Regions from separate parts of the Homo sapiens genome. Here regions 2, 3, 4, 5, 6 and 7 are each linked to region 1. Evidence: promoter capture Hi-C in 16 types of primary human blood cells and fetal thymus (Javierre and others, 2016). All regions are on one chromosome and are shown on one strand. The core of a region is centred on a gene start or on the middle of the fragment in contact, and the rest is flanking DNA. Distances in the headings are between cores, read along the strand shown. Region 1 holds the start of STPG2 (sperm tail PG-rich repeat containing 2). Region 2 overlaps METAP1 (methionyl aminopeptidase 1). Region 3 overlaps METAP1 (methionyl aminopeptidase 1). Region 4 has its middle 25 kb from the start of EIF4E. Region 5 overlaps EIF4E (eukaryotic translation initiation factor 4E). Region 6 overlaps EIF4E (eukaryotic translation initiation factor 4E). Region 7 overlaps EIF4E (eukaryotic translation initiation factor 4E).

Evidence for each region. The method cuts DNA at HindIII sites, captures the fragments that hold promoters and counts their contacts. A CHiCAGO score of 5 or more calls a contact.
Region 2: a contact is called between a fragment that was not itself captured here and the fragment with the promoter of STPG2 in region 1, in 7 of 17 cell types (total CD4 T cells, monocytes, total B cells and 4 more). The highest score is 9.5, in total CD4 T cells.
Region 3: a contact is called between a fragment that was not itself captured here and the fragment with the promoter of STPG2 in region 1, in 10 of 17 cell types (total CD4 T cells, naive CD8 T cells, total CD8 T cells and 7 more). The highest score is 10.8, in total CD4 T cells.
Region 4: a contact is called between a fragment that was not itself captured here and the fragment with the promoter of STPG2 in region 1, in 2 of 17 cell types (naive CD4 T cells and endothelial precursors). The highest score is 7.9, in naive CD4 T cells.
Region 5: a contact is called between a fragment that was not itself captured here and the fragment with the promoter of STPG2 in region 1, in 12 of 17 cell types (naive B cells, total B cells, fetal thymus and 9 more). The highest score is 12.6, in naive B cells.
Region 6: a fragment that was not itself captured here is called in contact with the fragment with the promoter of STPG2 in region 1 in 2 of 17 cell types (total B cells and monocytes); the score reaches 5.5 in total B cells.
Region 7: a contact is called between a fragment that was not itself captured here and the fragment with the promoter of STPG2 in region 1, in 2 of 17 cell types (M2 macrophages and total B cells). The highest score is 5.5, in M2 macrophages.

What each region holds. Positions count from the first base shown.
Region 1 is chr4:98,141,086-98,145,256 of GRCh38, forward strand. It overlaps STPG2 (sperm tail PG-rich repeat containing 2), which reads right to left and starts at 2,391. Exons shown (of 11, transcript NM_174952.3): 1 at 1,957-2,391. The coding sequence starts at 2,065. RefSeq lists an enhancer at 2,118-2,217. The HindIII fragment of the contact is 14,460 bases long and covers 1-4,171 here.
Region 2 is chr4:99,062,573-99,066,743 of GRCh38, forward strand. It overlaps METAP1 (methionyl aminopeptidase 1), which reads left to right. Exons shown (of 11, transcript NM_015143.3): 11 at 1-237. Among named protein-coding and RNA genes, the nearest start is that of ADH5, 24 kb to the right of the region's middle. The HindIII fragment of the contact is 1,133 bases long and covers 1,582-2,714 here.
Region 3 is chr4:99,043,430-99,047,600 of GRCh38, forward strand. METAP1 (methionyl aminopeptidase 1) reads left to right here. Exons shown (of 11, transcript NM_015143.3): 8 at 1,750-1,881. Among named protein-coding and RNA genes, the nearest start is that of ADH5, 43 kb to the right of the region's middle. The HindIII fragment of the contact is 3,409 bases long and covers 6-3,414 here.
Region 4 is chr4:98,951,684-98,955,854 of GRCh38, forward strand. No RefSeq gene overlaps it. Among named protein-coding and RNA genes, the nearest start is that of EIF4E, 25 kb to the left of the region's middle. The HindIII fragment of the contact is 612 bases long and covers 1,962-2,573 here.
Region 5 is chr4:98,922,767-98,926,937 of GRCh38, forward strand. The region is part of intron 1 of EIF4E (eukaryotic translation initiation factor 4E); the gene reads right to left. Among named protein-coding and RNA genes, the nearest start is that of EIF4E, 4.3 kb to the right of the region's middle. The HindIII fragment of the contact is 1,104 bases long and covers 1,691-2,794 here.
Region 6 is chr4:98,905,675-98,909,845 of GRCh38, forward strand. The region is part of intron 1 of EIF4E (eukaryotic translation initiation factor 4E); the gene reads right to left. It also overlaps the pseudogene TBCAP3. Among named protein-coding and RNA genes, the nearest start is that of EIF4E, 21 kb to the right of the region's middle. The HindIII fragment of the contact is 9,850 bases long and covers 1-4,171 here.
Region 7 is chr4:98,886,026-98,890,196 of GRCh38, forward strand. It overlaps EIF4E (eukaryotic translation initiation factor 4E), which reads right to left. Exons shown (of 7, transcript NM_001968.5): 4 at 1,864-1,927; 5 at 1,054-1,167. Among named protein-coding and RNA genes, the nearest start is that of EIF4E, 41 kb to the right of the region's middle. The HindIII fragment of the contact is 3,556 bases long and covers 248-3,803 here.

The DNA of each region.
Region 1 (4,171 bases), core at 1,141-3,640:
CTAAGGGGTCTAGGGAGTCACGCCCTACAAACTATACATTCTTATCAGATGGATTTTATTTAATCCTATATATAGTGGCTTACTTTCCAATCTGACTCTGGCATAACATTATGAGACAAGGAAAAAAAATCAAAATGTTTTACCTAAAAATATATTTCCTTGCCATACCTTGAAATTGCCCTGCAAAGTCTCTTGTGGGAAAAATCAACACTCTATAGAGAATACCCTTTCCCCTTCGTTTTCCTTCCTTTCCAGATGCAGGAGATAATCAACTAAGAGCCAGGCACTCTTTTAGGTCTGATAAGAAGCATTTTACAACCTGCTCCCTCTCTCTGAAGTCTGCTATCTGAGAGTTTCCTCTGCACAACAAAACTTGGTCTCCACAATCCTGTATCTTAACCTGAACATTTCTTTTGATGCCAGTCTTCAGATAGACTCAACCAATTGTCAACCAGAAAATGTTTAAATTTACCTATAGCCTGGAAGCCCCCACTTTGAGTTGTCCCGCCTTTCTGAACAAAGCCAATGTATTTATTAAGTGTACTTGATTAATAACTCATGCCTCCCTGAAATACATAAAGCCAAGCTGTACCCCAACCACCTTGGGCACATGTTCTCAGGACCTCCTGAGGGCTGTGTCACAGGCCATGGTCACTCATATTTGGCTCGGAATAAATCTCTTAAAATATTTTACAGAGTTTGACTCTTTTCATCAACAAGAAACATAAAAACATTTAAAGAAGGCCATGAAGGACTGCTTGGAGAGGGGGAGAAGATGATGCCCTGATTCGGCATTTAACAAATGTTTATTAGGTCCCAATCATGTTCCCAGACACTCTTCCAAGACAGTAGTTGGGAAAAAAAAAAAAAAAAAAAACAGGAGGAAATGATGTTACATTTTGGAAAGAAGTGTTTCCAAGAATAAAGTGGTCAGTTATGTCAAAATTAAGGATTGCAAAGTGTCACAGGGGGTCATTGTTAGCCATTGTTAGGGGAATTAATGCTTATAATGCCCAACTCCATTAAAATAAAGATAGAATAAGCTGCAAGAATAGTGATACCAGATACTGTGAAGCAGTACAATTCAACATGTGAAACACTGACAGAAGTCAAATTTGTACTCCACCCCAAGAAACCTAAACCTTCCCTTATCTGATCAGTTATGTAACAGAATAATGGATCCTGGCATTTGCTTGAAAATACATAGTGTAGGTATGGGGAAAATGTAGGTTAAGAAAAACTATCATTTGGACGGTATTAAGCTCCAGAAAATCACCAGAATAGAAAAAGTAGAAAGCAAAATTGATGTATTTATTTTTGACTAAGTCACTAACTGCAAACAAACGAGGAGAGCAAATATTATTTAAATTATCCATCCCCACTCCACTGGTCAAAAATATAATTTTTCTTTACAGAATGTGGAGAAAAGGGGCTCCCCTGAAGTGTGTTAAAAGAGATGAGGACGGTCAGAAAAATCTGTCTGAAAAAAAAACGGAACTATCTTTAAATAATACTGCAAAATAGAAATATAAGCTACATCTTAATAAATAAATGTCTCTGGTTAATGGGAGGAAAGATGTGAGGCAGGCAGGATTACAAAGCAACGAGACAGCGGGAGGTAAGGGCACAGGATTTGGAGACTCATATATTATGTCAACACAGCCAGGAAATCAAAATCCTAGACCTAAACTGCACAATCAAAAGTAGGATGTAGACAACTATTGCGGAATCAAAAGTCCTAGCCATATGCTCACCAGCCTTTTGAAATGGGACAAGTGATACTATCAGTCTCATCTGTAAAATAAAAGTATAGTGTTTTCCCTGCCTACTTCATGTTTTGTTATGTTTACAAAATGGTACTATTCCGCTCTATGTTTAACTCACAAGCACGCAGAAGCGGAGCAGGCTGAAGATAGGATGCCTGTCACAGGAGCTCTGCCTCTTCCTACATCTTACCTGTCGCCTGCTGCTTCAGGAAAGGTACCTGGTAGGATCCAGGACCCACATGGGCCTCAGTGCTGCCACCTTCAGCCAATTTGAGCAGGCGGGGAGCCCGATCATACATAGTGCTCGGGGTGGTGGGGGCGCTGGGGAAGGGCAGGTGCCGAAAACGATAAAAACAAGGTAGCTAGAAGTGTGGAGAAAAAGGAAGCCGACACCAGTCTGAGGAGGCCGGGAAAGAACTTCCGTAAACAGGGAAATTAGGGGTGGGGTTGTCTCCCCGCCCGCTCATTGATACCAGATTTCCTCAAATCGATTTCTAGCTCTGTGGTAAAGTAGAGGGGTGAGCGACTAGAGATTAGACGTCCCACACAATCATCAGTTTGCCAGGTGCACGCCACCAAAATTGGGTATTAGGGATTAGACGCTCGCCCCGGTGCTTCCGGCCCTGACTCCGCCCACTTCTCTCCGCCCGGAAGCCTGGGGAGGAGGCGGGCCCAGTCTCTGGGGAGGAGGCGGGCCCAGTCTCTAGGGAGCGAAGTGGAGGTGCCTTCCTGGGCCGAGCCCTCGGAGCATGCGCACCGAGCAGCCACCCTTTCCCGGCTCTTTTTACCCGGAACCCGGCGCGCCTTGAAGAAGGCAGGCCTAAACCTCGTAGCTCTTGGGGTCCCGGTAACTACTTAGGTCCCGAACTTTTTTAAGTATGCAGAAGAACCTTAGAAAACGCGTTAGGAAGGGTGAGGACTAACTTGACCTTGATCTGCTTCCCGACTCAACAGAACCTAGTAAAGAAAAATGCAGTAGCATGAAGCAGAGAGCTTGGGGTTCCGCAAGCTCTCCCCCGCTTCTACTGCAGCCCCACTCGTACTCACAGAGAAAAGGCACCTCTGATCTTAACCTGTAGATAGTCCAAACTGCTAAGACAAACCCAGGGCTCAGGGCAGTGACAAGAAATGGAGAACCCAGAAAAAAAAATAACAAATAAGATAAGGGTAAAAAAGAAAAAAAAAAAAAAAGAAATGAGGACACCAGGCAAGGAGGCGAAAAGCTCACCAACTGAAGCCGTGGAAGTGACTGAAAGCTGCCTCTTTTGTCGTATGCCAGGTAACCACAATACTGATTCATCAATATTTAAAAAGCAAAGCGAAGGCACTGAAAAAGCCCAGTCCACCCCACCAAACCAATGATTCTGAACCTTGGGCAAAAGAAACCTTGCTTGTCCTTGGGGCTTAAGGAATCTATGTCAGAATCCACCTCTGCATCTCGCAGGCTGTTTTTTCTAGCAAGAATTCTGTCCAGATTATAAATATCCTCAGAGGCTTAGACAAATCCTACCTTGATCATACCTCACCTCCAAATGGTCTACAGTACGTTAATTTGTTCCTACTACAAGTTTTTATAGTTTTCATACTCTGTAATACACGATTTGCCACTCAATCCTGTGCAACATTTACTGTGGCTTCATTGTGCCATATAGGTCGGAACCCTCTCCTTGCGAGGCTATATGCTTCTCAAGGATGTATCTGTAGTACCTTTTTTTCTGTTCAATAGCTAGCTAAATTATTTATGCACTTAAAAAACACGAATTGGCATATACTGTAGGTTCCATCCCTGCTAAGTTATGAGGATACAAAGGCATAAGAAAGTCCCTGCCCTCAGGTGTTCTCTCTCTAATGGGGAAAGAGACGTATAATCCAAAACGAGAGGTGGCAAAGATTTTTTTTAATGGTAGGAAAATGAATATTGCAATATTTTGGAAACATCTCACCAACTTCGATTCTCCCTGCATTCTGTCAGAAACCCTCATAATTCTCTCAATGTTGTTTTAACCTTATTTTCCAAGCTGCCACCTATACCCATTCAGAAGATCTAGATATTTACTATGACATATTAGAAAGAGTCACAGAGATGAAAGAGAAAAATTCATGTGCTGTGTATGATAATCCAGTGGTGCTTGTAAATTTGCCCGCTATGTCCTTAAGGACATCATTTGACCTTGATGATCCAAACAAGGATATCAACCCAAACTGCATACTCAGGTCTAGGCCATGGTTGCCGTAAGCATTGATGCAGAATTTCAAGCCCTGTCTGGCCATTCTGTCTGCAGTAGTCTACATTACTCTTTGCTTGAATATACATATTTTTGGAGATTGGAAATGGAAATGGTAAAGCTGGCTTTATATGCTTTCTGTCTGATTTGATTTTCAGCCATTGAATGTAACCTAATTTA
Region 2 (4,171 bases), core at 898-3,397, 920 kb after region 1:
TTGTAAGAGAACATCTTTCCCAGAGTGCCTCAGACCTTATTGCTTTAAAATATAATAATGTTTTCATTACTTTTATTATTTGAATGATTTAGTAAAGTTGACTGAATCTGGTATAGACTTTGGGAGTATGTGTGTGAAGTTTTTATCAAACTGTAATATTTGTGAATGGAATGCCTTGCAATATGAATGTTAATATAATGTGTAAAGGGAGATTAAAAAGTTTGAATGATTATCCTACCATGTAGTCATTAACTTTGCTGCATTTCTTTGGGATTTCAGAGGGAAATGGTGGGAATGGGGAGGCTGTTTGATAATCTAAAATAAATTCATGACCATTTGAGTAGAAATGTTTTTTCAGGTGTAATGGCTGTACATAAACTCAGTAGAGTGCCAGCAGCATTTGAGATGCAACCATATTTTTGAGAGCTTTTAAGACAGAATGCTGAATATTAGGGGAGCATTTTATGTACTGATTGTGGAATTAACAATGTGGGCTTATTCAGTGTCTGTCATTAGAATATAAGCTGAAGGAAGAAAGATCTTGGTGTGATAGTTTTTTGGTTAAAAGATAAAACACCACACTGGTGATAATGCTTTTCTTAGTTTGGGAGATTTTAAAACAATATGGACTCTAGTCTAATTGCATATATCTAATTACAAATGTTCATTGGATTTAGGTGACAAAACACCTAGTTTCATCATTCTGCCACCTTTTTACAAAACAAGTCAGAGCATGGTGTGCGAGCCTGTAGCATTAGCTACTCTTGAGACTGAGATGGGGGGATCGCTTGAGCCCAGGAGTTCAAGGTTACAGTGAGCTATGATTGTGCCACTACACTCCAGCCTGGGTGAGAGAGAGAGACCTCATCTCAAAAAAAAAAAAAAAAAAAAAAAAAAAATCAAAGTATTAACTTCTTTTTTTACATTAACTTTTAGAATAATTTTTTCCCCCTGCCAGTCTTCCAACTCCTTTGGAATTATAACTTGGAAGAAGGGAAACATGAACTTCATTTTATGTCTTTTGTTGATAAAAAGGATTAACCAACACCTTTATACCACTTGCACCCACATATCTAAATTAATAGGCAAGAGTTGATGAGGTTTAGGAATTTGTTTGCTTGATTCCTCAGTTTGTTCTCTAACGACTTCTGGGTTTTCATTGGATTTGGTTAAAACTGAGAGCAGGATGCTCCCCTTTGCTTAACCTCTACCCTCATGGTATCTGTAAGCGATTTCCTTCCTGTTTTTCCCTTCTTTTAAAATTTTTATTTTTTATCTCCAACTTTTTATATTGAAAATTTTCAAATTACAGAAAAGTTGAAAGTATAGTACAGTGAAATAATCATATATCCCTTACCTTTATCTAACAAATGTCATTTTGTCACCTTTGCTTTATCTCTGTATAAGCACTTTTCTTTTGAAAGAAGCAACATCGTACTTCACCCTACTACATCAGCATGTATCTCTTAACCTAATGACATTCTTTTACATGATCATAACACAATTAGAAATTTAGTATTAATACAGAATTATATAATGTATAGGATATAAACTTTAATTTTCCCCCAAAATGTTATTTAAAGCTTCCAAATTCATGGCATTTAGTTGTCATGTATCTGTAGTCTCCTTTTTTTTTAGATGGAGTTTCACTCTTGTTCAGGCTGGAGTGCAGTGGTACAATCTTGGCTCACTGCAACCTCCACCTCCTGGGTTCAAGCGATTCTCCTGCCTCAGCCTCCCTAGTAGCTGGGATTACAGGCCCCCGCCATGACCCAGGCTAATTTTTGTATTTTTAGTAGAGACGGTTTCACCATGTTGATGCCAGGCTGGTCTCGAACTCCTGACCCGTGGTGATCCACCTGACTCGGCCTCCCAAAATGCTGTGATTACAGGAGTGAGCCACCATACCTGGTCTTAGTCTTCTTAACTCTAGCAGCCGTGTCTAATCCTTTGAGTGCGAGGATCTTTTATCTGTGGTGGTGGATATCATGAAAATTATGCACAGGCCTTTGTTTGAGCTCATCAGCTATCGTTGGTGTATTTTACATGTGGCCCAAGATAATTCTTCTTCCACTGTGGCCCAGGGAAGCTAAAAGGTTGGACACCCATGCTAGAATAACCCTCACACCTTTTTTGATGTCTTACGAAATGGACACTTGAAAAATCAGGTTAGTTTACAAAAGTCCGTTTGTCTGATTGTTCCTCATGAGGATAGATGCAGGATAAACATCTTGGTGGAAGACTACAGAAATGGCAGTTGTATGCCCCATTCATTGTACAACGTGAGGCACATAATGTTGTTGTCACCTTATTGCTGATGCAAAGTTTGATCACTTGGTGTTTGTCAGACCTTTTCACTGTAAAAATACCTTTTTTCCTAAACAAGTAATCTGGGAGATTAATATTTGCTTGATACTACCAGACAGATGTAAAATTGTTTCAAAATTACTACACTAAAATCACTGCCAACAATAAAGTACACTTTCTTTATGATTCTTTTTTTCTTAGAACATATCATTGAAGTAATTTAGATCTTATTCTGAATTTCATAAACCATGGGCTACTTTAAGAATGAATGCAGTGAATCTCGGGGGCAAAAAATACAGTAGAGGTGGGGAGGGATATATTAGTGGTCTGGCAGTTAGAAATGCTGGAACTGTTTGAGACAGTGTAGTAAGATTCTGTCTACATTTGATAGTGTTTAACTTTTACCAAGCTTTCCAGCTGCAAGAGGAGCAAATCATACCACTTGTAAATTACACCACACTTGTGGCAGTGTCGCTCATTTTCCAACTCCTTTATTTATTTATTTATTTTTATTTTTTTCTTTTTTTATTATACTTTAAGTTCTAGGGTACATGTGCACAACGTGCAGGTTTGTTACGTATACATGTGCCACGTTGGTGTGCTGCACCCATTAACTCGTCATTTACATTAGGTATATCTCCTAATGCTATCCCTCCCCCCTCCTCCCACCCCACGACAGGCCCCAGTGTATGATGTTCCCCTTCCTGTGTCCAAGTGTTCTCATTGTTCAATTCCCACCTGTAAGTGAGAACATGTGGTGTTTGGTTTTTTGCCCTTGCGATAGTTTCCTGAGAATGATGGTTTCCAGCTTCATCCATGTCCCTACAAAGGACATGAACTCATCCTTTTTTATGGCTGCATAGTATTCCATGGTGTATATGTGCCACATTTTCTTAATCCAGTCTATCACTGATGGACATTTGGGTTGGTTCCAAGTCTTTGCTATTGTGAATAGTGCCACAATAAACATATGTGTGCATGTGTCTTTATAGCAGCATGATTTATAATCCTTTGGGTATATACCCATTAATGGGATGGCTGGGTCCAATGGTATTTCTAGTTCTAGATCCTTGAGGAATTGCCACACCGTTTTCCACAATGGTTGAACTAGTTTACAGTCCCACCAACAGTGTAAAAGTGTTCCTATTTCTTGACATCCTCTCCAGCATCTGTTGTTTCCTGACTTTTTAGTGATTGCTATTCTAACTGGTGTGAGATGGTATCTCATTGTGGTATTGATTTGCATTTCTCTGATGGCCAGTGATGATGAGCATTTTTTCATGTGTCTGTTGGCTGCATAAATGTCTTGAGAAGTGTCTGTTCATATCCTTCGCCCACTTTTTGATGGGGCCAACTCCTTTATGTTAGAACATAACATTTAGACATTCATGTTTTAGGAACAAACTGTTTCATAACATAGGCTGCATTAGGCTAAAACCTATAAAAGTTGTGTTTTGTTCTATTTTAAAAATGGACACCTAAGGAAAGGTTAGCTTAGCACACAGTCTGTGTATGGAAACTCTGGCCCTTATGGCAACCTTCTCTCATCTTCCTTTTGGTGCTAAGTAGGAAAAAGAAAAATAGTCTGCATTTATTTGGGTGTTTTGCAAGATGAAGCAGGAATAAGGTGGCCCTGGCTACGTGTTTGCTGCTTTTCATTTTGGGGACTGTGGGTGAGCAACAATAGAACTGTGTATATGGTGATTCTGGTTATTTTTGAAAAAAGGTCAACACTGGTATTTTACTAGAATACTCCAAAAAGTTAAAATATGGAGCACTCAAGAAGGACTTCCTATAAAAATTTTCACTTATCACAATTGTGCTGTTAGTCGTTCACAGTATTTTAATAGTTTTTTGTTGTTGT
Region 3 (4,171 bases), core at 460-2,959, 900 kb after region 1:
AACAAAGCTTGGGGAATCTGACAGTGACTTGTGTTTTCTTGACTTGCTTCCTGTACTTAAACTTTTTCCTTTTTAAAATTCAGTATCACTAACTCTTAAATCTACAGGAAGCTCTCTTAACGGTTTTGTGCATGTTGCTTTTAAGATACTTCCGGTGTGATGTGTTTGGTGCAGTGTATTTCTTTAATGCTTATCTCATATGTGATTGGTAAATAGGTCAAAGATGTCAGTGAAATGTGGAGTCTAGTTTTTTTCCCCCAGAAGTTCACTAATGGTTTTGAAGAGACCAGGGCAGGCTTTGTTATAGATACAGGAAAACCCTTCATAATATATGAAGACCTAAAGGAAAGCTGAAAATCTTGCAGAAGTGCCTTACTTGAGTGGAAGTAGCTTTAAAGACCCCTATGTTAAGCTACCTTGGGAAGTTACAAGTATAGAGAGTAGAGGAAGTAGTTTAAAAGACATTAATGAAGGCTTTCCTAGATGGCATTTGTTTTTGTTTTGTGTATTATTTTATTTTTTGGAGACAGGGTCTCACTGTCACCCAGGCTCGAGTGCAGGGGCGCCACCATGGCTCACTGCAGTCTTGACTTCCCTGGCTCAGGTGATCCTCCCACCTCAGAAGTAGATGAGACTGCAGGCTCATTGCTACCATGCCCAGCTCAGTTTTTGTATTTTTTGTAGAGATGGGGTTTTGCCATGTTGCCCAGGCTGGTCTCAAACTCCTGGACTCAAGCATCTGCCCACCTTGGCCTCCCAAAGTCTTGGGATTACAGGCATGAGCCACCGTGCCTGGCTTAGATGGCATTTTAATATTGATGGAATTAGACTCTTTGTTAATAAGATATCTTAAAGGAACTACCTATCAAATGAGGAAGCATGAGCCCAAGTGTTAGAGGCTGCAGATAATTGACTGATTGTGATGCTAGCTGTGAATGATAGCCGAAATTTAACTATGACACTATTTTTATTAGAATTGCTACTGCTTTAGTTAGGGTATCTGTTCATAAAGTTCCATAGGTTTTGAGGCCAACCCTGTTTTTCAAATATAAAGCCTGTTATTTTTATTATATGTAGAATGTGTGAGGTTTTTCAGGAATGTATGTGTTGTGCTAGAACCAAAATATCTATATTGTGATGTTACAGGTTGATTGAAATATGTGGTTTAAAAATACTCAATGTGCTCTCTAGATACATTATAATGGTATAATAGTATATAATATATAGTATAATAGTAATCTATATTCTTAAACATGGGGACAAAGAGAAGAATGAATATTCACAAATAAGAGAAAAGCAAATGAGTTTTAAAAAAACAGGTGTAGAGCAGTGTAAATTTTTCTGTTATTCCCTAGCAGGAGTAAGGAACTTGTAAAAGATAAGTGAAAATGGTATTTTGTAGCAATGTAGCAAAGTTTTCAATTTAATGTTACTAACTCTGGTAATTTATTTTGCATGATTGTGTCCCACATACATTTTTCTTTTGCCACAAGTGATACAATTACTATAAGAGTATAAAAACCCACTATCTGGCTTATGTTACATGGCCATATTCCTGCTCTCCACAGTGAGTTCAGTTACATCTCAGGGAGCTTCTGTTGGGCAATAACTATCTATCCATTGGTGTCTAATTTGAGAATGCAGAAGTTGTCTTTTTCATTAAGTTGCTAGATGCTGTCATGTTGGAAAAACACTTGAATTTTGAAATGAAAATAAGTATGGTCTTTATATTTGCACATTCTCTTGCAGTGGATATCACTCTTTATCGCAATGGTTATCATGGGGACCTGAATGAGACATTTTTTGTTGGAGAAGTGGATGATGGAGCACGGAAACTTGTTCAGACCACATATGAGTGCCTGATGCAAGCCATTGATGCAGGTCAGCCTCAGTGTTGAGCACCTATTGGCAGTCCTGTGTGTTGATGGGCCAAGAATGACTGGGCGCTGCAGTTCTGTGCATTCCTTGTACCTTCCAGGTTGCCCCTGTTCTACCTGAGTTAGCTTTGGTTGTTAGCAGTAATGGGTAAAAGGATGATCTGGGAATCTCTTGGTGGTGATAGACCAGATGATTGGTTAGCATCCTTTGTTTCTTCTGTGATTTATCTTCCTTTTCTTTGCCTGATAAATGAAGAGGACTGTGCAGATGGTTTTTTAGTGCAACTTTTATTCTATTTTTAAAATTCTTTCCAGTACATAAATATTATGTTCTCCTCATAAAAAATTAAAAGTGAAGATTATGAGTGAAAAATGTGTGATCCTCCTTTACACTTGCCTCCCCTCTTATCTCTCTCTTCTCTCTAGAGATATCCCATTACCGTTTAGGTTTTTTCTCTCTCCTGTGCATTAATGCACACACGTATGTGTATGTGTTAAATTAAGTTAAATGGAATCATAATATTTTTAATGTGTAACTGGGCTGTTTTTTCAACTATCATAGAGATCTTTTCAAGTTAGCATATATACCTACAGACATAGATTTACCTCATTCTTTTAATGGCTATGTATTATATTCTATAGTATTACAATTTGTGTAACTATTCTGTTGGATTTTGGTGCTTTCCAGATTTCTTACTATTGTAGTAATGGGTAGGGGTGTATTTCTGGAGGATTTTTCTCAGGCTGTCTGTCTTTGTACATATGAACAACTTATCGAGGCTTTTTTGTTTAATCAGTATCTTATGGGGATAAGAGAAGGAAAGGGGCTGGGCATGGTGGCTCACTCCTGTAATCCCAGCACCTTGGGAGGCTGAGGTTGGCAGATCACTTGAGGTCAAGAGTTCGAGACCAGCCCGGCCAACATGGTGAAACCCTGTCTCTAATAAAAATACAAAAATTAGCCAGGTGTGGTGGCGGGCGCCTGTAATCCCAGCTACTCGGGAGGCTGAGGCAGGAGAGTTGCTGGAACCTGGGAAGTGGATTGTGCCACCGCATTCCAGCTTGGGCAACAGAGCGAGACTCCATTTCAAAAAAAGAAGAAAAGAAAAAAAAGAAAGGAAAGTTCTTAACAGCATCTTGTTGGAGTTGTTAACAAACTGTTAATAAATGGGCAAACAGCCTTCTGGTTAAATCCTTACCATATCAACTTTATTACCAGTGTGCTACCTGCAATCCTCCCCAGTCTCTCCAAATCTTGATGTCATCAACAGAATAGTGAACAGGACAGAGTTCTTAGACAAACATACAGTTATCTCTAATAATGTTGATCCAGTATTTTTATTGTTTTTAGTGCGTTCTTTAATGTGTATGGGAGATGAAATTTTTACTCAAGTTGGAGGAATGGAAATGAAGGAATATGATATTTTTGTGTATCAGGTGAAATTTTGAAAACTTATTACTCATTGTTGATTATTTTAAAACATTAATACAGGAGGTGGAATTGAAGAAATTTAATGTTTAATTTGTCATTTGTGAAAGCTTAAGTTTGAAATAATTTTTAGAGTTTCTGCCAGATAATATAGTCAATATTTCTATTCTTTTTGCTTCTCTGTGAATCAACTGAAGAAACAAAAAAAAAAAAAAAAAAAAAAGAAAAAGAAAAAACCAGATAGTTAGAATGCTGTTTTATATGACGTATGACTGGAACTTGCCAATAGTTTTCATAACAGTAGCCAGGAAGGAACGAAAGTGGCTTGATCTTTTTTGGAAAGTGCTTTGAATTCCTTTGTATATATCATTTTTGCCCCTCATTTTGCACCTCCCTTACTCCCCCAGGTAGAGGGTTTGAAAAGCTGTTGAAATTAGGCTTCTTAAGTAGGGTTTCTTAGTCTATGCACTTAGTGGCTTTTGGGCCTGATAATTTTTTGTTGTAGAGACCTGTTCTATACACATAAGATGTTCCACAAGCATTCCTGGTCTCTACCCAGTAAATGCCAGTTACACCACCACCCTGTGTTTGACAACCAGAAATATTAATATCTCTAGATACTACCCTTGGGGCCGCAGTTGGAGCAGTTTGAAAATTAGGGAAGACTTCCTCTGTCACTCTTTCTATGCAACATGGATTACAATATTGTTCCCCCTCCCACCCCAGGCTGATAGGAAGGCCTGGATAGGAATGAAAGAAAGTAATTATGAAAGTCAGCATGATTTTTCAAAACCAGAAACCTCCTTCCTTCTCCCCCCAAAATCAAGCTGCAAAATACAGTTAAGAGCAAGTAAAAATGTTAATT
Region 4 (4,171 bases), core at 1,018-3,517, 810 kb after region 1:
GGAAAAAAAACCCCAAAAAAACCAAGCCCTAACTATGGGTAACTGATCAGCAATGCTTGTAGAAAAATCTTTTGATCAAGAGGGGGACGTATGAAAGTTGTCAGGATCAAAAAGGAGTCACTTGTGTCAAACCCTGAAATATGGAGCCAGAGAAGGCCACAAAGGGAGGGTTGTCATGCTTGTATACCTGATAAGAACTATCACAAAAGACTGACTGCGAAAAACCACAACCTTGCGCAAAGGCCATCACAACCATACACAAAAAATATTTCTGTGAGTACATCTGCCTAGCAACTGCCTGTCCAGCCTTGCACTGATGCCACCCTTGTTATTGATTCTTGTAATGAAGAATAATTGTTTACAGACACTTATGTAATATTTTCATTTTTTCTTTAACAACTCTTTTCTTTCATTACCTCCCTGAATATGCTCACCATGTTCCCATTGCTATGCTCAATCCCAAATAAATATTATCAATCCTGAATAATTATCAATAAATATTTTTAAAATATTTTATATGTAATATATGTATATAAGAATATATATTTATAGTATATATAAATATTTATAATATAAAAGTATTCATGTTTTACTTTTTTTGGAGACAAAGTCTCATTCTGTCACCCATGCTGGAGTGCAGTGGCATGAACATGGCTCACTGCAGTCTTGGCCTCCTGGGCTCAAGTGATCCGTCCACCTCACCCCTCTGGGTTGCTAGGACTACAGATGTGCACCACTATGCTTGGCTAATTTTTAAAAAATTTTTGTAGAGACAGAATCTCCTTGTCTTGCCCAGGCTGGTCTGGAACTCCTGGCTCAAGTGATCCTCCTGCCTTGTGAACCTCCCAAAGTTCTAGGATTACAGGCACTTACACATGAGCTACTGCACCTGGCCCTATTTATATATTTTTTTTTAATCCACCCATCTGCACACTGAGAGTGTGTGTGTGTATTTAATTATTTTTTATGCAGTTTCATGTTTTTAGATCTTAAGTTTAAATCTTTGGATTATTTAGCAATTTTTTTGGTTTAATGTGTTATATAAAAACCCTTATATAATGTGTTATATAAAAACTTTTATGTAAAAACCTGTATTTTTTCTGAACTATTATCCAATAGTACCATGATGTTTTCTTTCTTTTAGTTTGTGTACTTGTTTATTATAGTAGACTTTTTCCATGGTTCATTTATGAGCAGTTCTGTCCAAATCTGCTTTTCACCCAAAAAGTGTTGGTGAATTCTGCTTGACTGTCCACTCTCTTTTTACCTGGGAACTGTAAACTGTACCATAATATTAGAAATGGGTATATTCTCTTTGTAATAACATCTACACTATACTCTGTGATATGTAGTATGTACAAACTCACCTTCTGGAACCAGAATGTCTGATTGTGTCTGTTGCTTACCATCTGTGTGCCCTTGGACTTCTTTTTTCTCTCTCTCTCTTTTTCTTTTCTTTTTTTTTTTTTTTTTTTTTTTTGAGACAGAGTCTTGCTCTGTCACCAGGCTGGAGTGCAGTGGCGTGATCTCAGCTCACTGCAACCTCAACCTCCGCCTTTTGGGTTCAAGTGATTCATATGCCTCAGCTTTCCAAGTAGTTGGGATTACAGGCACGCACCACCACACCCAGCTAATTTTTGTATTTTTAGTAGAGATGGGGTTTCATCATGTTGGCCAGGATGGTCTCGATCTCCTGACCTCATGATCCACTTGCCTCAGCCTCCCAAAGTGCTGGGATTACAGGTGTGAGCCACTGCGCCCAGCTGCCCTTGGACTTCTGAACTTTTCTGTGGCTCAGTTTCCTTATCTGTAACAGGAGACTAGTTAGGATTGAATGAGTTAATGCTTGTAAGATGTATGAAATGGTTCCTGGTACATAGTCAAGGCTTTGTAAGTTTTAGAATTAGGATTATCCCCTTCTATGGCTTAAGAGAGAGAGGAAGAGGGCTGAAGCTATGGGAAGCTTGAGTATTTTGTGGGTCTTGGTTTCTGATTTAGAAATGAACTCAGTCTTGCTCAGAGACTGTGTTCCTAACCTCTAATGTTTTTGTCTCTCTATTTTTTCTTCAATTTAGTCCAAATTCTTCGGTATTTGAGAGATGTTTCTCAAAGTTTAAAAAAATTTTTTTAATTTTTTAATATAAAAAACTCCAAACATTAAACAAAAGCTGGAGGAATAACAATAAATCTCATTTACCCATCATCCAGTTTCATTTTTTTATGTTATTTTTATTCCATTTTTTTAGAATAGAGACGGAGTCTCACTATGTTGCCCAAGCTGGTCTTGAACTTCTGGGCTCAAGTGATCCTTCTGCTTCAGCCTCCCAAAGTGCTGGGTTTTGAAGGCATGAGTCACCATGCCCGGTCTATCATCCAGTTTTAATTGTTATTGTCTTATGGCCTTCATAGTTCTTGGTATGTTGGAAGGATTACTTGAGCCCAGCGGTTTGAGACCAGCCTGGATGATATAGAGAGACCCTATCTCAAAAAAAAAAGTTATTAGTATAAGGTTGAGAACTCTTCCCTAGTTTCCACGTAGATGGTGCTATTGTTCCTAGCACCTAGGAGAAGGAAGCTTTGTGGGTCTGTACCTATCCTTTCAGATTTCCTGTAGGTCATAAACCCAATACTTGAGCTATCATGATTTAAACACTTTTTCTTGCAACTGTAGCAGCTCATCAGGCTGTTATATCTATCTCATCCTCTTTATTTCTACTCTAATTGCCCTACTTGGACCTTCACTGCTTTTCATCTGAATTATTGCAACAGCAGCCTAATTGGCCTTCCTGTATTCAGACCTCTATATTCAGTCCACTCTTCGTACTGTCGAAAGTTTATTTTTTTTTAATATCACAAGCCTAATTATGGCACTCTGTTCTAGAAGCCAAGGAATTGCTCTCGGTTGCCTATGGAGTAAAATTCAAATGGTCTTTTTTTCCACAAGAACATGAGATGGCCCTTTTCAGCCCTTCACTAGAGTATCTTTCACTATATACCATAGTTCCTCAATTCTAACATGCCATTGATTATAGACTATATATTATGATTATATGTCATTGATTTAGCAAAAGCTTTTGGGTCAGGGACCAAGAGGCACAATGGAACCTACGCATCAGTGATAAGATACATTGTGATTTCACAATTATGAAAATGTAGAGGCATATTAAATTATTCCTGTAATCACAGCAACAGTATTAAGGTAACAGCAATAAATGGATGGCATATTAACCTGCGTAATTATAGGAGATTTTTAGTAAGGTAATTATTTGCAGACATGGGCAAAGTTTAGGGAGCCAATAGGACATGGTATAGTATTCCCAGGCTGGCTTTAGGGTGGGTGGGGGACTGTTGCAACCGAATATCTAGGTATGAAGGCTGAGGGGAAGGAACTCTGCCAGAAACCAGAGAGAGAAGTGTACAGAGCAGGACTCTAGACAAAAGTTGCGGACTTCAGTAGAGAGAGTGAGTGAGCCATGGAAACATGGTAGGGAAGGGGCCAAAGGAATAAAGATCTCGAATACTTCACTCTCTCCCCACCCTCTTATCTCCAAGCTAGCTAAAGCCATCTCGAATCCAGAGGATAAACAAGTCCACCAATGCAGTTAAGCTTCCCAGGGCACAAAGCATTATGGAGAAGAATGGAGCACAGTGGGGAGGGAAGCCAAAGGCTAAATGGACAGTGTCAGGCACATCCTCCATTCGATTTACTCTCCATCTTATTTTATTTATTTATTTATTTATTTACTTATTTATTTATTTATTTATTCATTCGAGACAGAATCTCACTCTGTCTCCCAGGCTGGAGTACAGTGGCAAAATCTCGGCTCACTGCAATGTCTGCCTCCTGGGTTCAAGGGATTCTCCTCTCTCAGCCTCCTGAGCACCTGGGACTACAGGCGCATGCCACCACACCCGGCTAATTTTTTTTTCTTTTTTTTTTTAGTGGAGATGGGGTTTCACTGTGTTACCCAGGATGGTCTTGATCTCCTGACCTTGTGATCCGCCCACCTCAGCCTCCCAAAATCTGGGATTACAGGCGTGAGCCACCACACTCAGCCTACTCTTCATCTCAAATCACAGATTAAATCTCTACATACCTGAATATTTGCCCGCTTGCTGTTTATTTGGCCTTTGAGCTCAGCTTAATTTTCGCGTTCTCCATGAAGCCATC
Region 5 (4,171 bases), core at 993-3,492, 780 kb after region 1:
ATGCTGGTTAGATTTGTAATGATTCCACAAAAATTTACTGAATATAGTGTGACTAAACTTCATTTTCCTGTTTTTTCTTTTTTCTTTTTTTTTTTTTTTGAGAAGGAGTTTCAGTCTTGTTGCCCAGGCTGGAGTGCGATGGCAGACATAGGCTCACCGCAACCTCCACCTCCCAGGTTCAAACGATTCTTCTGCCTCAGCCTCCCAAGAAGCTGGGGTTACAGGCATGTGCCACCATACCCAGCTAATTTTGTAATTTTGTTAAGTAGAGACAGGGTTTCTCCATGCTGGTCAGGCTGGTCTCGAACTCCCGACCTCAGGTGATCCGCCCACCTCAGCCTCCCAAAGTGTCGGGATTACAGGCGTGAGCCACCACGCCCGGCCCATTTTCCTACTGTTTCTATGGAATAATGTATCAAAAGTTCCAACTGGGGAAACAAAAAAAAAAAAACCCCTTATATTTCTGACCACATTCTCAGGTTCCAGAAGTGCCCAGAAATGACTATTAGTATTTTAGACACACACACACACACGCAAAATCATTTTCTTTTTCTTTTTTTTTTTGGTGAGATAGGGTCTCTTTCTGTCACCCAGGCTGGAATGCAGTGGTGTGATCACAGCTCACTGCAGCTCTGACCTCCCAGGCTCAGGGGATCCTCCCATTTCAGCCTCCTGAGGCTAGGACACAGGTGTGCACCACCATATTCAGCTAATTTTTTAATTTTTTGGAGAGACAGGGTCTCGCCATGTTGGCCAGGCTGGTCTCAAACTCCGGGCTCAAGTGATCCTCCTGCCTTTGTCTCCCAAAGCCTCGGATTACATGTGTGGGCCACCAAGCCCAGCCCCTTTCTTTTTCTGGAGACATGATTAGGGACTTTTGAAGGAACACTAGTGATTTTTATGGTAGGGATAGGAGTGGGAAGAACATCTTAGGATTGTGAATCACAGGCTTTGCATTTCTTGCTAATGGCTAAGGATTGATAATTAAAAAGCAGCAATGTGAATTTCCAAGAAAAGAGGGAAAATAGTATGTAAATGCATGGATATACATGAGTATAAAACATTCATGGAATGTCAACTTTAGTCCCTTACAGTTGACAAACTGTCACCTTTGAATACTGCATTTAAAAATTGAAATCACCGTAATATATCTTATTCCGACTTTCAGCTGACTTAGAAATTTCAGTCTTCAAGATCACTCAGATATTAAGATGAGACTATAACCCATGCTCATTTCCACTTCTCAAAAAAGTCTCTATGACTAAGATGGTGCAACTCACCGGTACTAATAGATTAAGGAAACTTCTTTTGTTTATTTTTTTTTTTTTTGAGACGGAGTCTCGCTCTGTCACCCAGGTTGGAGTGCAGTGGCACAATCTCAGCTCACTACAACCTCCGCCTCCCAGGTTCAAGAGCTTCTCCTGCCTCAGCCTCCTGAGTACCTTGGGATTACAAGCACGCATCACCACGCCCAGCTAAGTTTTGTATTTTTAGTAGAGGTGGGGTTTCACCATGTTGATCAGGCTGGTCTCAAACTACTGACCTGGTGATCTACCCACCTCGGCCTCCCAAAGTGCTGGGATTACAGGCATGAGCCACCGCACCCGGCCCATATTCTTAACTTTATGTAAATTAAACAATATTTTACTTAAATGTTTTTTGCCTACAGTTTTCTGTCCAAACTAGAGTAAGCTTACATAATTCATTTTGCATATTATCCCTCTGCAACTTCTGTGTATAAACTGTGTGTCTACATTGAATTTCTCTAAGTCTAATAATCATGCTCATTAACTCAGATTATAAAATGAAGTGTGAAATTTGTTTCTGTTTTTTTTTTTATTCTTTTTGATGGAGTCTTGCTCTGTCGCCCAGGCTGAAGTACAGTGGTACCATCTCGGTTCACTGCAACCTCCACCTCCAGGTTCAAGCGATTCTCCTGCCTTGGCCTCCCCAGTAGCTGGGATTACAGGCGCCTGCCACCAGGCCTGGCTAATTTTTGTATTTTTAGTAGAGACAGGGTTTCACCATTTTGGCCAGGCTGGTCTCGAACACCTGACCTCAAGTGATCCCCACCCGCCTCGGCCTCCCAAAGTGCTGAGATTACAGGCGTGAGCCACCGCACTCAGCAAGTATATTTTTTTCTTTTAATTGAAGAAATCTGGAATATGAACCCCAGAGCCAAATTTACGTGGATTATCGAGGAACTCTGATATAGTGGGTTCTTTCATTAAGCAAAAAGTCCACTAATTTGCATAGTCTGGTTGGCATTCAATTGTTCATTAATATGAATTATATAGTACAACAAATATTTGTCAATATGTATATAAACCTTATTTACTCTTATTAATAAGCTGTGTAGTACAGAGCATGTTTCCAAAGTATAAAAAAGGAAGCATTAAATTAGCTGATTGTCCAAGTTGATTCACTTATGAAATTAGCGTGGTTTCAAAAAATTCAAGAGCTACAATGTAAAAACAAGTAAAATTATACACTTTCAGTTAAGCTAAAGAAATCAAAATTAATCTCTTACCTCAAAAGGAACTACAAGTCAAAAAAAAATTTTTTTAATTCTAATAATGAACGATGTAGAATGAAGATAAAGCTACAAAGAAACACGACCTACTGGAGGTAAGATGGCCTTGCCATTTTCACAGACTAATATTAAACCTAATTTTGACCCAGCCACAATTCAAATGCCGATAGAATAACATCAGAGTACCGTTTGCCCTAACGTTCAAATTTTTGCCAAATTATCCGTTAAGAGGTAAAATGTTTCCCTTAATTTTCCCTTTCAAGCTTCTCAACAAATTTAATATTTGTGGGCCACATCTTCATGTAACTCAACTCATACAAAGAGAAAACCACACAATAATATCAAACTGAAAATGATATTTTATGTAATGTCCATAGACAAAAATCATCCAGATACCTATGCATGATGGGATAAGCAGGAAAAGCCCATGGCTCTTTTTAAGTGTTTATGATTATGCACAGCAGAAAACCATTATGGAAGCTCACAAACTAGCTGAAGTAAGAAAAAACATGATTTTTGCAGCCTTCAGCAGGGGTATCTCAAGTACAATCCAATTCTAATCAGTTGCTTCAAAAAAAAATCCAGGCGAGGCTCGGTGGCTCACGCCTGTAACCCAACATATTGAGAGGCCAAGGTGGGAGGACCACTTGAGTCCAGGAGTTTGAGACCAGCCTGGGTAACCATCGCGAGATTCCATCTCTACAAAAAGTTTAAAAATTATCCGGGCGTGGTGGCCTGCTCCTGTAGTGCTTGCTACACCAGAGGCTGAGATGGAAGCATCTCTTGAGCCCAGGAGTTTGAGGCTGCAGTGAGCTATGATCGCGCCACTGCACTCCAGCCCCAGCAACAGAGCAAGATCCTGCACCCCTACACACAAAATCCAACTATTTAAAACTGTCAAAAATAATTCCACATAACTAGCCTGTGCACAAGGGTATATTAAAAGTACTAAAAATTTTCAGGCCAGGCGCGGTGGCTCATGCCTGTAATCCCACCACTTTGGGAGGCCAAGACGGGCGGATCACCTGAGGTCGGGAGTTGAAGACCAGCCTGACCAACATGGAGAAACCCCATCTCTACTAAAAGTACAAAATTAGCCGGGCGTGGTGGCACATGCCTGTAATCCCAGCTACTCGGAAGGCTGAGGCAGGAGAATCGATTGAACCCAGGAGGCGGAGGTTGCGGTGAGCCAAGATCGCGCCATTGCACTCCAGCCTGGGCAACAAGAGTGAAAGTCAGTATCGAAAAAAAAAAAATTCATTTCTCACTAAAACTAAACACTTCGATACTATTTTACATATATTCTCAAAATACTTTAGTTTCCAGCTTCACACACTTTGTTTTTAGGTTCCCCTACTCCCCAAATTTAAACATAACATCCAAATCTCCCAAAGTCTGTACCAGAACAAATACTGTATCACTAACCACATCCCTAGGAATTAAGTTCCTTAAGGGTTTACATTCAACAAGACTCACATCTTGTATAACTTTGTATCCTAAAGAACACTTGGTACAACACCCTGGATATATCAGGAGCTATTAATATTTACTAACTCAAAATATAGTCCTTCATCACTTTGCAGTTCCGCTCTGTGCTGCTGAAACAAAACTGCATAAACTCTGCAAAACTCAAGGGAC
Region 6 (4,171 bases), core at 885-3,384, 760 kb after region 1:
ATTAAACCTGGTTTAAGATTTGCTGAGTTTATCAGCTTCAAATAAAAATGTTCAGTATTGTAATTTAGCAAACCCAGGGCTGAATAAACTGTCATAGCAACAAGAGAAAGTTGAAAGCGAAGAAAAAAAGCAAGCAAGGGTGAGAAAAGTCTAACAACTGGCTGCAAAGAATGTCAGGTAGCTTTTTACTACATTCTGCAAAAATTAGCACAGGTATAATATTAATCTTACAGGACAATCCTAATATTATAGAGGTAAATATTTCCCAGATCTAGCATCATTCTGTGGTGTTTTCAATAAATCTGACTAAACTTTAGGTTCTCCTCATCATGTTCAAGTCTACATTGCTTAAATTCCAAAACCATGATGTGCTTTTCCATAGTTTTGAACATTCAAGATTTCTCAGCAACTCTCAACCTAAATATACATATAAACCACTTCTAGAAATAATGATGAGCCTTTCCCCTCAGAATACCCCATTTGTGTCCTCCATTACCTTCATTCAACAAATATCTACTTACTCACAGGAACTTCCAAAAAATTTTTTTCCAGGTTAAGACAAATCACCCAACACCTTATTTGAAGTATGGAATAATCAGTAGTCCCTCTTGGCACTAATAATGGTTTGAACCAGTAACTCAAAGTATAGTCCACAGACTACTACTGCTGGTCCACAAACTGGTTATGGTTGACAGTGAGGTTAAGTATAGAAATGCAAAGTAAACACTTTGAAAATCTGTAGCAATTTGACAATTTTGTATCTGCTGAAACTAATCAAATTCAGGCTTACATATTGTATGCATGTCTTCATCTTTATCATTTTACAAAAGTATTATATTAGAAATTTTTAAAAAAAGGCCAGGCATGGTGGCTCATCCCTGTAATCCCAACACCTTGGGAGGCCAAAGCAGGAGAATCTCTTGAGCCCAGGAGGCCAAAATAGGAGCATCACTTGAGTCCAGGAGTTCTAAGGCTGCGGTGAGCTATGATAGCACCACTGCATTCCAGCCTGGGTGACAGAGTAAGACTCTGTCTCTAAAAAATTAAATGAAATGAAACTTTAAAAACAAACACAAACCAGATTGTCATCAGAATATGAGATGCACTGCTTCTGATCACACCCTCTAGAGCCATGTTCCCCATGTTGGAATCCCAGCTCTGCCATTCACAGCTGTAAAATTCAGAGCAAGTAACTTCCGTGGCCTCAGTTTCCTCATCTTAAAATGGGCATTGTGACATTTATCTCCTAGGATCACAATGGGGATTAAATGAATTAAAAAATAAAAGCATTTAAACTGTCTGATACATGGGAAATGCAAAATAAGGGTTGCTTTTTATAAAGTAGCTAAAAATGTTAAGTGAATGGTTACCTGGCTTGCCATTCTCCAAGTATTTATTCAGAGCAAACTATATGACCAGCCACTATGCTGAGTTGTTTCATATGATTTGTTTTAGAAAGAAAAAAATTTTTTAAATTATATTTATCACTTTCCTCCTTCCTAAATTCCTTCTGATATATGTAGATATAGGTATTCCTCCCAGAACAATAATGATTAATGCAATATAAAGTCATTTTAAAGTAAATTGAAGTAAGGAAACCTACTTTTCCTACTTTTAAAGGTACTCCCAGATACCCTATTTCCCCTTTTCTGTACTGAAGGCATCATATCTTTGGCCTCATGAATGGCTAAAATATAGCATTGAGCTGCAACTATCTATTACCAAGGAACAGCATAAAGGACATTGAAATCAAGCATCAAAAAAGGCACAAAAAAGGGGGCTAGAGGGAGAAAGACATTCTATATCAGGCACATTTATTCACATACCATCTTCTGTGCTTCCAAATAATGCTGCAACTGACAGTCTGTATATATCAGGCTCTGACTTCACTACTACAGTTTTCCTCTCATAACAGAAAAAGCAATCCCAGGTTTATCAGTCCCTGATGCACTAGGAGCCATACTGCAAAATGGGTAGCTCAACAAGACAGCCTGGATCCACCTCTAACCCCAACTTGATGAGTCCTTTAAGTCTTAAGATGAGTATGATAGGAGAAAACTTTCAGAGTACCATAGGGATTTAAGTGATCTAGGGTAAGTCCTTAAAATCCCTGTAAGGATCAGTTTCTTCCCTTGTAAAAAGTGCCGTGTGGGTTTTCATCAACAATCCAAGAGTTTGGCACTGAAGTGATCCATAACTGTCGGCTACCATGAGCAATCAGTACTTGAGATGACATTAATGTAAGAGTTTAGAAAGGTAAGAGCTGAGTAAATGCGGCATACTGAACTAGACTTCAAACTCTGGAGAAGTTCCAGTCCTTTAAATTTTAAGATGAGGAAAAAATTTTAAGAACAATAGAAGATAAATCACTAACATTCATATCCCAGTAATATCTGAACAAGGAGTGGTAACCTAAACTACCTAGGGTATGCTCTCTAAATTATTGTCCTGGCTCAATAATTTCTATCTATCCTCAGATCCTTACACCAGACCTTCCCCACCTTCACCCCACCCCCAATCATACACACAGTAAGTAGGGATATGAAAAGAGAAAGAACTCGTGATTAAGTTAGAAATAATTACCCAGATTACTGTTACCACACCTAAATAATTCTGATACCAACACTCTCCCCCTTCCTGATGACACAAAAATATAAACGTGTTCGGTCAATGCTACAGCACCAAATAATGGATAACAACATGATTGGTGACTCATATCCAGTAGTGCTTCCTTATATTACCCCTTCCTTCACTTTCTGTAGCTGAACTGGAAAACCAGCTGTGTCCATATTAGAAATGTAAATGCTACATATGGCAAAGACAGCTGCAATTATTTCTACAAGGTACTAATACAACATTCTAGTAAATTGAAGTCACTATATTAAATAAAGGTATGAAATAATGAGCAGAAGGACAGACACAGTAAGAACAGAAAAGGATGGTGCTTTATGATTTTGAAAAGCTCACACCTCATCCAAACTATGAGTTTTTACTTGATAGGGAACATTTACTAAGCAGTAACTACCAGGCCATGTGCTACATTATTTTCATACATATTATCTCAACATACTATAAATCATCTCAATATAGTCAATCTTCATAATCCCGTGAAACAACCATTATTCTCTCCACTCTTCAGACAAATCTGAAGTCCTGGAAAAGTAAACATGTCATTTAAATCCAGGACTACCAGGGTTTACGGCTAAGAACACCACATGTCCTAGTTCTACCTGTTTGTTGTTTCAGTATAATTGTTAACAGAACTCTCACTCCCAAAGGTGGCCAGGACTGAATAATAAATTATATGGTTACAAAGATTCTCTTTCTAGGCAACATAAATCTATAATATATACTGTGCTCTGTTCTACAGCCTCAGGCTCAACACCTTTGCTCATCTTGCCAATGCATGTGACTGCCAATAAACTAGTAAAAAAGGCATGAATGGTACACCTCACCCTTCCTCCCAGACACACAAAAAAACCCACTACCAGGAAAAAAAGCAACTATATAGTGAGTTTGTATTATTATGCACAGCAGGACACTAAATACCCATTGGTCAAATATCTCACATATACAGGTAAGTGTAAGTAAAAACCTCTTTTATGTGTACAAATAACTTTAATGAGAACATTATTTAATACAAATATGTAAACAGACTTCATACGTTTCTGTTCCTTGTAGTATCTACTGTTAGTTCTCAGTTTTGTCATTCATTTGACAAATTAAATCAGGCAAAGAAATGTACACAATCACATAAAAAGAATCACGTTCTCACACTTGAACACACAGCAGTGGTCAAAAATAATGAAATGTAAACTGGACCCCATGATTTAATGCAAAAAACACCCTGTACATAAAAGTTTCAGGCTTCTAACTCCACTGAATCCAGTACTAAATGTTCTTTATATTCCTCAGCTTCTTCCAAGTCCTTTTCACTTTCTAAAATCTGCCAAAGAACAGTATATGCAGCTTCCAACCTGTGCTGGCAAACAAGGCTTATCACCTGGGATTCTCGCAGACTTTCTGCCTGCTTTTTAATGGCATCATTTTCACCATCTTCAGCTCTCATTTTTTTTCTTTCCTTCTTGTTTTGCTTCTTTTTCATGCATCACTTTTTCTCGACCAACTGCTTCACCACAGGAGTCTTAATTTGTCTCAGGACAGGATCAGC
Region 7 (4,171 bases), core at 776-3,275, 740 kb after region 1:
ACCTGTAGTCCCAGCTACTTGAGAGGCTAAGGCAGGATGATTGCTTGAACCCAGGAGGCTACAGTGAGCTATGATGGCCCCACTGCACTCTAGCCTGGGCGACAGAACAAGACCCTGTCTCTAAAAAAAAGCAAAATAGTCACTTATTCAAACATTTAAAGTGATTAACTTAACAAGTGCTAACTATAAACCAGGCACGGTTTCAAGTGCTAGGGATACAAAAGAGACTACAAACCCCGCTCCTATAAGCTTGGGGTTTGGAACCTCTGTCTACAGAAAATGCTTATTATCTCATATTTAATTTGTCTTGTAAAGCCAGAAGTTCCAGTTAATATCACAACATGTAGGTCAAATGGTAGTACACAACAATTTTATTATTTGCTTCACTAATCTAAAAAGTTTAGTGGGACAGGCACAGTGACTCACACCTGTAATTCCAGCACTTTGGGAGGCTGAAGTGGGAGGATCACTTGAGGCCAGAAGTTTGAGACCAACCTGGGCAACATAGCAAGATCCCATCTCTGGAAAAAAATTAGAAAATTAGCTGGGCATGGTGGCATGCACCTGTAGTCCCAGCTACTTAAGAGGCTGAAGTGGGAGGATCACTTGAACCCAGAGGGTGAGGCTGAAATGAGCCATATAAATAAATATCCGCACTCCAGCCTGGGCAACAGAGCAAGACCCTCGCTCTAAAAATATAAGTATTTAAAAGTTTAGTATACATATAGCAATGCTGTAAGAGGGTTGCAAAAACTTCAATCATACAAAATGTAAGGTTCTATAATTTTGAGGTTAATGAAATGACCACAGTGAGCTTACTGTGGTGAGAGTCAACTGCCAATCACTTAAAATATCTGACTTATAATGTGGTAGGATGTTTCACTGTACTATAAACAGGAGTCATATGACAGAACAAAAATAATTACTGACCCTGATTTTCTAGTGTTGGGCATCCTTCTCTTAAATTAAGTAACAAATGTAAAACATAACATATCTTAAGTATCAGTATTCCAAAACTACCTCTAAAACTGCTTTATACTTTTAAAACCTTACTGTCTCTAGCCAAAAGCGATCGAGGTCACTTCGTCTCTGCTGTTTGTTCAATGTAATTAGCCATCGTCCTCCCCGTTTGTTTTTCTCATCTTCCCACATAGGCTCAATACCATCCTACAGGGTTAGAAGACAACAGTATTACACAACATTGTTACCTTGACTTTGAGAGATAATCATTAGAAACAGTTAAGCAACAACACTGTCAACTTCTTACTTTATTGCCCATAAAACTGCCATTGATGTAGTTTTTAAACAGCACATAAGACTTAAAGCCAGAGGCATGACATTGCAGAATTAGAGTCCTGGCTTTGTCACTTATTAGCTATCAAATCTTGGGTTTCACTTAATTTGAAGGTTCTTAAACTTTCTGAGAAGCAAACATATTTTAGAAGCTCTGTACATTTCTACAGCTAGAAAATACATGCAAAAACTATGCAATTTCAGTTAATGAATGTCCCGTCCCTCTACCAACTGACAAAGCCCAATAATAAGTATTCCAAGGACCCATGCTCCTAAGGTTAAGAATGCTTGATAAACTCAGTCTGCTCAAATATATAAAGGAAGGAGTAGACTGGATAATCAAAGCTCTCATCAAAATCAATCTCAGTATGTGCCCACAGAGTAACTCTCTCTCAATTTTTATAAACAAATAGAATAAGATATATTGATACTAAAGCATACTACAGCCAATTAAATTATCAGCCTATTCATCACACTATCAAATATTCCTAAGTTTATGGTAAGATTTCTTAATGAATACCAAATGGCCCAGTCCTATAATAAATATATAAAATCACCAATTAAGCATACCTTAAAAAGTGAGTAGTCACAGCCAGGCATTAAATTACTAGACAACTGGATATGGTTGTACAGACTAGGTAAAAGAAAATAACAATTAAAAACACAGAATATGTAATATAGAGTTTAGGTGCTTACATATATATACATTTAGAACATATGATGAAAATAAACAGATAAAAGTTCATGTTTACTTGTTTCTAAGGAGTCAATTTCTAAAATGGACAAAACAGATCTTAAAAGCAGTTAAATAATCAACTTCAGATGACAGGTATAATTTTCAAAAAAACTTCTAGTGACTGCTCTGACAAAAATATATTTTATGTTAGTTAACTCAGTGCATACATATGTATATATATAAGAAACTGAGAAGAGAGGTATAAGGTGGCTTTAAGTAGATGAAATAATTTCTGAAGTTAATACACAGTTTTTTTCACAAACATAAAAAAACAAAAACAAAAACAAAAACAAAAACCAGAAACGATGAACTTCCTGACCATCAGGATTGCATGACTGAAACAGTCATTATCCTTGAAGGTATCCAAGAGTAGAATAGATCAACGGTTCCCAAACACCACAAACTGTCACTGGTTAGTCAACATAATAATCATTTTAAAACTGATTTTAGAAAAATAAATAAATAAATATAGTTACAAGCCCTACATCTTGGGATTATAATCACCTAAATATAAGATGGAACCCTGCAGTCTGTATTTCTAAACTATTTCCCAAGTATCAAAATAACAGAATAACATTTGCGATGACTTAGTTGCTTGCCTGAAGGTAGGAGGCTTAGATCATTTGATCTCCTGTAGTCTTTTACAGCAAAATTGATTTAAAAATTGGCAACTCTTAAGAATCTTTTGCTTGTCTCCAATATTAGATGGCAGAAATAATGATCTTAGCTGTGTCTACAGACCATGGATGATTCTACTATCCTTAGTCTGGTTCTCCTGGTGCTATGTTAACCCCATCTAGGAATATTTCAGGTAAAGATTTAAGGGCCGGGTGCAGTGGCTCACGCCTGTAATCCCAGCACTTTGGGAGGCCGAGGCAGGTGGATCATGAGGTCAGGAGTTCGAGACCAGCCTGACCAACATGATGAAACCCTGTCTCTACTAAAAATACAAAAATTAGCCGGGCGTGGTGGCATGCGCCTGTAATCCCAGCTACTAGGGAGGCTGAGGCAGGAAAATCGCTTGAACCCAGGAGGCGGAGGTTGCAGTGAGCCGAGATCACCCCATTGCACTTCAGCCTGGTGACAGAGCTAGACTCCATCTCAAAAAAAAAAAAAAGATTTAAGAAAGAAGTTGGCATCTTTAAATCAAATTCCATAGTATAACACACAAATATAGTTTAGGTGAGACAACCTAAGACCACATAAGGTTTGCTGAGTCACTACCTAATGGTAACTCCCAACTACATCATCAATGACAGCCTCCACTAGGCAACAAAAAAAGACGGGATACTAAGTGACTATAAAATTAGCGCTACTAATGTCATAAAATGAATGGATATTGTGGGAATGACCTTCAATAAAATACTTTTTCCCTTTTGCTGCCTCCTTTCTCTTCTGTGGTGCTCAAAGGTCTCTCAAGTAAGTCCATCATGAGAATTTATAATGGCACATCTAAACAGAATCCTAAGACTATGCAGTCTGGATAAATACAAAAGGACTCAATGGTTATCTGCAATAAATTTGCTAGAAAAAAACAGAAATTAGGAAGTGGCCCACACATTTATAGAAAACTGAAAAATCCTTCATATCTCTAAGTTATGGTATAAAAACCTACTATGTAATGACATTGACTACATGTAACTGAAGCATGGAGAACTGTTCTAATTAGAAGGTAGAATTATGTAAACTGGTAAAAGCCAAACAAACTAGATAAATGCAAATCTGATTGGGGAAGGTGGCTCAAGGCTTCCTTTTTCTCTGTAGGAGAATGAAAAGCTTTTTTTTGGGGGGTGCAGAAGACTGGAGTTATTTAAGAGTCCTGAATAAACAAAACTAGAGAAGAAAAACTACTTGATGTTTTGATGATGGGCAAAGAATAATAATCCTAGTTTAACTAGAAAACTAGACCTATAAATTATTAGGCCTTAAATGTAGTTATTATTAAGTGTCAATGCTTTTAATAAAAAATAAATACTCTCAAAGTTTACTCTCAAATGAATGTTCTCAAATACTCTCAAAGTTTATGGTTTTAATCGTATGCTTTGCTTTTTTCAGCAACACAAATGAATACAAAATATCTATTAGAAGCCAAGCACTGGAAATATACAGAAAAATATTGTTTCTGCTGTTGAAGATGTACAT